3 separate regions of the Homo sapiens genome follow, and all the other regions are linked to region 2. The links are contacts of gene promoters, found by promoter capture Hi-C in blood cells and fetal thymus (Javierre and others, 2016). All regions are on one chromosome and are shown on one strand. Each heading gives the region's core, a stretch centred on a gene start or on the middle of the fragment in contact. The rest is flanking DNA. Distances are from core to core; before and after follow the strand shown.

Evidence for each region. The method cuts DNA at HindIII sites, captures the fragments that hold promoters and counts their contacts. A CHiCAGO score of 5 or more calls a contact.
Region 1: a fragment that was not itself captured here is called in contact with the fragment with the promoter of TRA2A in region 2 in 1 of 17 cell types (monocytes); the score reaches 5.8 in monocytes.
Region 3: a contact is called between a fragment that was not itself captured here and the fragment with the promoter of TRA2A in region 2, in 2 of 17 cell types (monocytes and neutrophils). The highest score is 6.6, in monocytes.

Annotation. Positions count from the first base shown.
Region 1 is chr7:23,209,224-23,212,308 of GRCh38, reverse strand. No RefSeq gene overlaps it. Among named protein-coding and RNA genes, the nearest start is that of NUP42, 29 kb to the right of the region's middle. The HindIII fragment of the contact is 7,777 bases long and covers 1-3,085 here.
Region 2 is chr7:23,530,699-23,533,594 of GRCh38, reverse strand. It overlaps TRA2A (transformer 2 alpha homolog), which reads left to right and starts at 1,614. Exons shown (of 8, transcript NM_013293.5): 1 at 1,614-1,806. The coding sequence starts at 1,771. RefSeq lists enhancers at 376-875, 1,235-1,354, 876-1,377, 1,525-1,744, 1,755-1,804 and 3 more. The HindIII fragment of the contact is 3,554 bases long and covers 449-2,896 here.
Region 3 is chr7:23,248,625-23,251,439 of GRCh38, reverse strand. All of the region lies in intron 1 of GPNMB (glycoprotein nmb), which reads right to left. Among named protein-coding and RNA genes, the nearest start is that of GPNMB, 3.3 kb to the right of the region's middle. The HindIII fragment of the contact is 5,429 bases long and covers 1-2,815 here.

The DNA of each region.
Region 1 (3,085 bases), core at 111-2,610, 320 kb after region 2:
CTGGTTTGCAATTGGCTAAGGAAGAGAAACTTTGTTTAAAAATGTAAAGCCAGTAGAGTTAACTGGTTAGGGGGAGTGACTTTCTCCAAGCCCTTCAGGAAAAAACTTAGAACAAAGGACAATAAAGTTTAGTCTTCATTTCCCCCTTATCTGGGGTCTACCTGCCATGCCCCTGATCAGTTTGGGGGGTCCTCAGTTAGGGGGTCCAAGCCTCTGAAAGACAACTCAGGGACATACGTGAAGATACTATCTTTAATTTCTATAGGGAAAGCAAACATCTCTGGGACTCCAACTTCTTTAGCTGTTGTTTTAGGCTACTATCACCTTCTTGTTTAACAAGTTATTTATTTACTTCTCAGGGCTAGCTAGGCGCCTGGAATTTCCCCTGAAGGAACTTAAGATTTATTTCCATGCTTACGGTCCACAGGCCTCTAAAAAAAGGGAGGGTCCGTGCTCCACCTCACACAAGGTTGTGGCGGGCCGCTGGAACCTCATGTCTCCCACATGCCTAGAGGGAGCAGCCTCCAGAGGAGAATGGCATCTCTCCTTCCTTCTTGCAGATATTGAGCAGGAACCTTTTGCAGGCCAACTTGAATCCGGAACCATGGGATGATAGGGACTCTGGGAAATGTAGTTCCGGCGTCTCACCTGGGAGCCCGCAGAGTGGGTACTGGTGATGGACAGTTAACTGCAGACTGCCCGTGCAGTCTGAGCGTGCTGCGAGGAAAAGGGATGAATGCCCACCAGACTTCACAGCGATGACCTCTTGGGAGGGGGATTTCAAATGGGAAGGGAGAAGAGGCTATGAAGAGAGAGAGCTATCCTCTCTCTTTTTCTTTTCTTTTCTTTCTTTCTTTCTTTCTTTCTTTTTCCCTCCCTCCCTCCCTCTCTCTCTCTCTCTCTCTCTATTTATTTTGAGACGAAGTCTCGCTCTGTCGCCCAGGCTGGAGTGCAGTGGCGCGATCTTGGCTCACTGCAAGCTCTGCCTCTCGGGTTCACGCCATTCTCCTGCCTCAGCCTCCCAAGTAGCTGGGACCAATGAATGCTGGGGACAATAGAGGAAGTCCCAGAGAGGATGCTTTCTGGCCCAGCTTGGGTCATGTGTCCTTCCATGACTGGGTGAAGAGGGAGACCAGGGAATGCAGGAGAAGAGGGTGTTGATTGTGAGTGCCACCCAGCATGTGTGGAGGGCTGGCCTTGGAGTGCAGGTGACAGTGACCAGTGTCCTCTGTGATGCCTTCTGTTTTCTCTGTGAAGCAGGAGGTGGGCTATTCCTCAGAGAGAGGACAGATGAGAAGACAGTGGTGAAGGTATGGACTTGCTGCTGTGGGAACAGGTGCTGAGCCCACTGGAGGTGCCACGTGGACTGCAGCCCAGGGTCACTGAGGTGGCAGGCAGCAACCTCACAGGGCACTTTCCTCTGCAGCCCTCCACCCCACAGGTGGGCTGGGCAGAGGAGACAGCCTCCCAGGAGCACAGGTTGGCCAGCCAAGTGCTTGGAGGAAGAGGAGACAGAGGAGTTGAAGTTAACACATTTTCAAAAGAATGATTATAGCCATGGGCCGTGCAATCTTGGCTAAAGAAATATGCAAGGCCAGGAGGTGGCGAAATCATGTGGGGATGGTTCTCTCTTCCCCTATTTGAGTTTTCCTCTCCCTGTTGCAGCTTATACCCATTTTGGTCTCAGGTTTGGCTTTTTAGAAGCTGCTTGGCTAGTTAGAAAGCTGGAGTTGTATTAGAGTCACCTCTGTCCACTTCTCTGGGGACCAGTGAGCTGTGTAAGGTGTTACTTTCTAGAAGTAAAAATTTTTTTTCCTTTTGTTTTGTCGAGATTCATCTCTGGGGTGAATGACAGGCTCATACATTCGGTACCATTAGATATTGTAAAAACTAGTCTGCAGAGCCGATCAATGCCTGATGCATCTTCAGAGCAGCTGAAAGTCCTTTCCCTCCAAATCTTTGTTGTTGTTGTTGTTGTTTGTTTGTTAGATGGAGTCTCGCTCTGTTACCCAGGCTGGAGTGCAGTGGTGCAATCTCGGCTCACTGCAACCTCTGCCTCCTGGGTTCAAGCAATTCTCCTGCCTCAGCCTCCCAAGTAGCTGAGATTGCAGGAGCCCACCACCATGCCTGCCTAATTTTTGTATTTTTAGTGGAGATGGGGTTTCGCCATGTTGGCCAGGCTGGTCTCGAACTCCTGACCTCATTTGATCCACCTGCCTTGGCCTCCCAAAGTGCTGGGATTACAGGTATGGGCCATGTGCCTGGACATTTTCTCTGGTTTTGATGGGGGAAAAAAAAGCCCAGAAGACCCAAAGCAATGTCCATGCAATGCTGGTCCAGGGGGCTCCCTGCAAGGGACTTATGAAAACATTGCTGATCAAACCCCCCATCCCCATGGCTCTTATTGCTGTATGTATTCAATTACAGCAAACTCATTACTTGCTCCCCTTTGAAATGTGAGAGGCTTTTTCTGTTTTCAGAATGTACACTGTGGAGAGGATGGGGGCAGGGAGCAATTTAACAAATATATTACAATTAAAATTGTTCATACTTTCCAACTCAACATTTTCACTTACGAAACATTCCTGCATTGTGCAAAGATATATTTTCTAGAAAGTTCTATTGAAGCATTATTGGCTCAGAACTAGGGGCATGGTTAAATCAATTAAACAATGGAAATATAATGGAATACTACACGGCCTTTAAAAACAGGCGTGTTAGCTAGGCACGGTGGCTCATGCCTGTAATTCCAGCACTTTGGGAAGCCGAGGTGGGTGGATCACGAGGTCAAGAGATCAAGACCATCCTGGCCAACATGGTGAAACCCCGTCTCTACTAAGAATACAAAAATTAGCTGGTCATGATGGCTTGTGCCTGTAGTCCCAGCTACTCGGGAGGCTGAGGCAGAAGAGCTTGAACTTGGAGGCGGAGGTTGCAGTGAGCTGAGATCGTGCCACTGCACTCCAGCCTGGTGACAGTGTGAGTCTCAAACAAACAAACAGGCACATTAATCTATTTGTGCTGACAGAGAAAGTTCTTTGAGAAGATGCAAATAGTATAACATTGATAATTATGAGACTGTATA
Region 2 (2,896 bases), core at 365-2,864:
AATAATAATAATAATAATTTCTTTTGTAGAGATGGGGGCTCACCATGTTGACCAGGCTGGTTTCGAACTTCTGGCCTCAAGCGATCTTCCGCCTAGGGTCTCCAAAGTACTGGGATTACAGGCGTCAGCCACCACACCCAGCCAAGTTCAACATCTTTTCTAAGAGCCAGATGTCATTTAAGTTTATCCCTATCAATAACTGACATTCAAATGCTGAAATCTTGCCCCCAGTGGTAGCAATCTTCATAATAATGCCAGATGAACTTTCCTACCATAGAACTATAGTTGAAAGTCTATGTCAATCTTTTTACTACAAAGCACTGTAGGAAAAAAATTTAAGATGAAACTAATTTTTAAAGTTGCATTACACAAGTAAAACTCATCTCAGAGATTATTACTATGATTGGGAACCAAGTTGACAGATTTGGGAGGTCTTCACTGTGAAGCTTTATGGAAATATCTAAGTCAAAAAAACTAGTAGGGAGCTAAGCATTATAAAAAAAAAACTACACGGCTGTCTCTAGGAGGGGGAACTGGAGCAGGGACACGAGGCAAGGAGCAGCGGCTTTGCATCATAACCTCATCTGTGCATGTACTACGTCGACATTACACAGGGCAAATATGGAAGAAAAGTAATACAGTCAGCTGACAACGTGCCCCCCAAAAGCCTGTTATATATACACGATTCCAGCCGGGCGCGGTGGCTCAGGCCTGTAATCTCAGCACTTTGGGAGGCCGAGGCGAGCAGATCGCTTGAGTCCACAAATTCGAGACCAGCCTGGGCAGCATGTCAAAACCCCATCTCTGCAAAACACACAAAAATTAGCCGGGTGGGCCGGGTACGGTGGTTCACCCTTGCAATCTCAGCACTTTGAGAGGCCCAGGCGGGCAAATCACCTGAGGTCAGGAGTTTGAGACCAGCCTGTCCAACATGGTGAAACCCCCGTCTCTGCTAAAAATACAAAAATTAGCCGGGCGTGGTGGTGCATGCCTGTAATCCCAGCTACTGGGGAGGCTGAGGCAGGAGAATTGCTTGAACCTGCGAGGTGGAGGTTGCAATGAACCTAGATAGCGCCACTGCACTTCAGCCTGGGCAACAGAGTGAGACTCCGTCCCAAAAAAGAAAAAAATTAGCCGGGCGTGGTGGCGCGCGCGGGAGCCTGAGGTGGGAGGATCGTCTGAGCCCGGGAGTTTGAGGCTGTGGTGAGCAGTGATCGCTTCACTGCACTTCAGCTTGGGTGACAGAGCGAGACCCTGACTCAAAAAATAAACAAACATAAAAAAACGCTTCCAATGTTTTGTTCCCTTACATCAGAATCCACTTGGACAATATTTAAAGGGGCTAAGGTCATATAAGGCTCATCTGGCGACTGAAAAGTCTTCAAAGAGGTTGACGCGTCCGAGGTGAGTCTGAAGTTTGGAGGACAGCACGGGACCGCGATTCCAAGGCGCCCAGGTTGAGAGCGCAGGCCGCCCGCCAACCTCCACCCTCGCTCCAGGCCCAGCCGACACAAAGCCTCGCGGGAGGTGGAGCCTCGTGACGTCACAGAGACGCCCGCCCCCTTTACGTCGTGCTCTGAGGAGGCCAGGAGATTTCTGGCGGCGCCGGCGCCATTTTGCTGGAGCCTGCGACCGAGTGGGAGTGGAGTGGAGCGGCTGTGGTTGCCGACTCTTTCCTCTTCCCCACGGTCCAGTCAGCGGGTTAATTAGGCCATCGGCCCTCGAGCCGAGACTTGTCTCTTATTTAGTTCTGGGGAGCGCCTCGTCGACATGAGTGATGTGGAGGAAAACAACTTCGAGGGCAGAGTGAGTACAAAGCCGCGGGAGCCGTCTAGGCGGCGGCCCAATGCTCGGGGTTTCACGGGAACAAGCGCGGTCGGGCGGGGTTGCGGGTAGTCCCGCGAGGAGCAACCTCTGGAGCCATCGCGATTGATTCCTCCCATCCCAAGATGGCTTCTGGGTTCCACTCCTTCCCCAAACACCACGGATAACACCCCTCCCCCTTTTTTGGAGGCTGACTGATACCTGGACTTCTGGGTCCTCTTCCCTCCCCGCCCCCGCATTGCTTCCTCCCTTCTCCCCACCCCTGAGGCTTCCTTATGTCTGCTCCGAGGTGTGGGTCCCCGTCGCGGTTGGGCGGGAGGAGGCGGCAGGGAGCTCCCCTCCGTCCGGATAGTGGTAGGTGCTTCCTGCGGTGGCATTTCTGGCGACCCCGAGCATCGTAGAGGGTCTCGGGATCGAAAGTGCGCGGGGCTGCTTTCCGGGCGGGGAGAAGCTGGCGTGGGACTAGCTGGGGCCTGTGTCTCCTTGGCTCTCTATTTCAGTGAGCGGCCGCGTCTCTGTTGGAACCGGCGGCGTTGCGTCTAAAAAGGCGAAAGCCTTGAGGTTGAAGGTGGGACGAGCCTAATGAAGTGGTTAGTCAACGACCGCACCGACCCTTAAGCGTTCTTAAGACGAGAGCTGTGAGGGGAAACTACGCAAGGAGCCCTTTTCCCTTAATGTCCCTTCGACTTTCCTTTCACTTCGAAATGAATGTGGAAATGCTGTCACGCCTTATTTTTCTAATTCCTCGATGTTGGGTTTTTTCTCTTCTTTATATCTCAACTTTTAATGCTCTTCTTCCTATGACCTTTCATCTAAAAACTGACCACTCCTTTACAGGTTTTTACGGTAAAAAAAAAAAAATCTGTCTTTCTTTAATCTTACATAGCTGAACGAATTCATTGGCTCAGTATTTTTAAGATAACTAGTCAGTATATACTGTTCTGTAACTTAAAAGATGACCTGAAAATTAACAGGCCCTCTCCCATTTCTCTTCTCACTCTATCCCCCACCGAAGAGGGCTCAGAAAAAAGTTTTTATTAATATATTTGGGGTCGGAGAAATACAAACATCA
Region 3 (2,815 bases), core at 309-2,808, 280 kb after region 2:
CCTCAGCCAATGGTCTTAAATTGTTCTCCCATTAATTTCTGTGGTTCTATGTCTTGGCCTGGCTATAGACTCTTGGAGGAGAGAAACTCTGTCTTGTTCTTCTCTTAAATCCTGGGAGAGATCCTCCATGAGGTGTGGTATTGAGTGGGTGCTCAGAGAAGCCATATTGGATGCATGTCTCTGACCTATTCCTTCTATTCCTCTTCTCTGGTAGGAGAAGGGAGCAACACGTTCCCTTCTTCTCCAGGAGGCAGAGAGAATGGGAAAGAGCAGCAAAGTCGGAGTCATGGAACATGTTTTCTAGCCTTGGTTCTGTTATTAAACAGGATGTGTGACCTCAGGCCATGTGTCTTCTCTGGGCCTTCACATCTGACAAAAGCCAAATGTCCTGTGATTCTATGAGATTGCTCCTATTTGGAAATAGACATTAAGTGAGGGGAGGACATTTGTGTTTATCAATAAGTATTTGTAATTGGAAATTCACTTGAGTCATATGAAAAGAACTAAGATTATTTAGTTCAAATCCCTTCATTTTATATATGAAGAAATTCAGGCCTAGGGAAATGATATGATTCACCTAGGGTCATCTTTAGTAGAAATCAAGATTCACATCTTTTGATTCCCAGGACAAGGACAAGTTCTTTCCACTGTTCCAGAGAGTCTTCCTCTTCCTCAGATCTTGAAAGAAAGTTATTGTTTCCAGGAACATAATCAAAACGCAGATTTCTCTTCCGATTTTAAATGTCAGAAGCCCAGGAAAAGTATAAACTTAAAAGGAGAGTTACAAGGGATAGGCACATAGGTCAATGGAATAGAAGAGAGAATCCAGAAATAGACCCACACAAGCATGCTCTACTAATTTTTTTTTTTTTGAAGAGATGGGGGTCCCACTATGTTGCTCAGGCTGGACTCAAACTCCTGGGCTCAAGTGATCTACCTGCCCCAGCCTTCCGATTAGCTAGGACCACGGGCAAGCACTACAGTGCCTGGCTTGATTTTGGACAAAGATGCAAAAACAAGCCAATGGAGGGAAGATAGCCTTTTCAACATATGGTGCTGTAAAAAAGCAAAAAGCATAGGTGAAATCTTCAGGATCTAGGACTAGGCAAGAATTCTTAGACTTGACATGAACACAACCCGTAACAGGAAATTGGAACTCATTAAAATAAAAAACCTTTGCTCTCTGAAACATGACATGAAAGAGGATGAAAAGGCAAGCTACAGACTGGGAGAAATTATTTGTAAACTACACTTCCAATAAAGGACTAGTATTTAGAATATATAAAGAATTTTCAAAACTCACTATAAGAAAACCACGGGATTCAATTAGAAAAATTGGTAAAAATTAATGAAATGATATTTCACCATTTCATTCATCTCATGGCAAATAAACACACAAGAAGATATTCAACATCATTAGCCAGTAGTGAAATATCACTATATCCCTATCAGTAAGACCTAACTAAAAAGCAGTGACAACATCAAATGCTTGCAAGGATGTAGAGAAACTGGATTGCTCACACATTACTAGTGGAAATGTAAAATGGTACAGCCACTCTGTTAGTTTCTTGCAAAACTAAACATGCAACTATCATACAACCAAGAAATTGTACCCTTTGGCATGCATCCCAGAGAAACAAAACTGATATTCTCACAGAGATCTGCACATGAATATTTATAGCAGCTTTATTCATAATAGCCCAAATTGAAATAACCCAGATGTCCTTTAATGGGTGAATGGTTAAGCAAACTGTGGTACATCCATACCATGGAATACTACTCTGTGACAAAGAGGAACAAACTATTGATGCAGTTACTTCAATAAATCAATAAAGTTCCAGGAAATTATGTTGGGTTTTAAAAAAAGCAAATCTCAAAAGGTTACATACTGGATAATTCCATTTGTATAGAATTTTGGAAATTACAAAATGATAAAAATGGAAACCAGATTAGTGGTTGCCAGGGACTGGGTGAGGTTTGGAAAGAGGGAAGTAGATTTGGCTATACATCTATAGCCATGAGAATACTTTGGTGATGGAGCTCTGCTGTGTTTTCACTGTATCAATGTCAATATCTGGGCTGTGATGTCCTGTTTTGCATGATGATACCACTGGGGCAAACCAGGTAAAGGGTGCATGGGGATCTCTCTGTATTATTTCTTACAACAGTATGTGAATCTATAAATACCTCACAATAAAAAGTTGAATTTAAAAATAAAGGCCGGATGCAATGGCTCATGCCTGTAATCCCAACACTTTGGAAGGCTGAGGGTGGGCGATTGCCTGAGCCCAGGAGTTCCAGACCAGCCTGGGCAACATGGCAAAACCCTGTCTCTACAAAAATTTAAAAAATAAAATAAACCCATCCGGATAAGGTGGCTCATGCCTGTAGTCCTAGCATTCTGGGAGGCCAAGGGAGGACTGAGCCCAGAAGTTTGAGGCCAGCCTGGGCAATGTAGTAAGATCCCATTTCTACAAAAAATACAAAAATTATCTGGGTGTGGTGGCACGTGCCTGTGGTCCCAGCTACTCAGGAGGCTGAGGTGGAAGATCACCTTTAGCCCAGGAGTTGGAGGCTGCAGTGAGCTGTGATCACACCACTGCACTCCAGCCTGGGTGAGAGTAAGACCCTGTCTCTAAAAAAATTGATTAAAAAAAAAAAAACCCAATAGTAAGCAGATTTTAAAAGAAAAATAAAAGCCTGTGGGGGTGGGTTTTGGGGGCAATCAATGTGAAGGTAAATTTGAGGTCGCACCCAGTGCTGCAGCCGACTCTGCCTCCACACTTTGGCATCCTTGCTGTGTCCACCAGCAGAG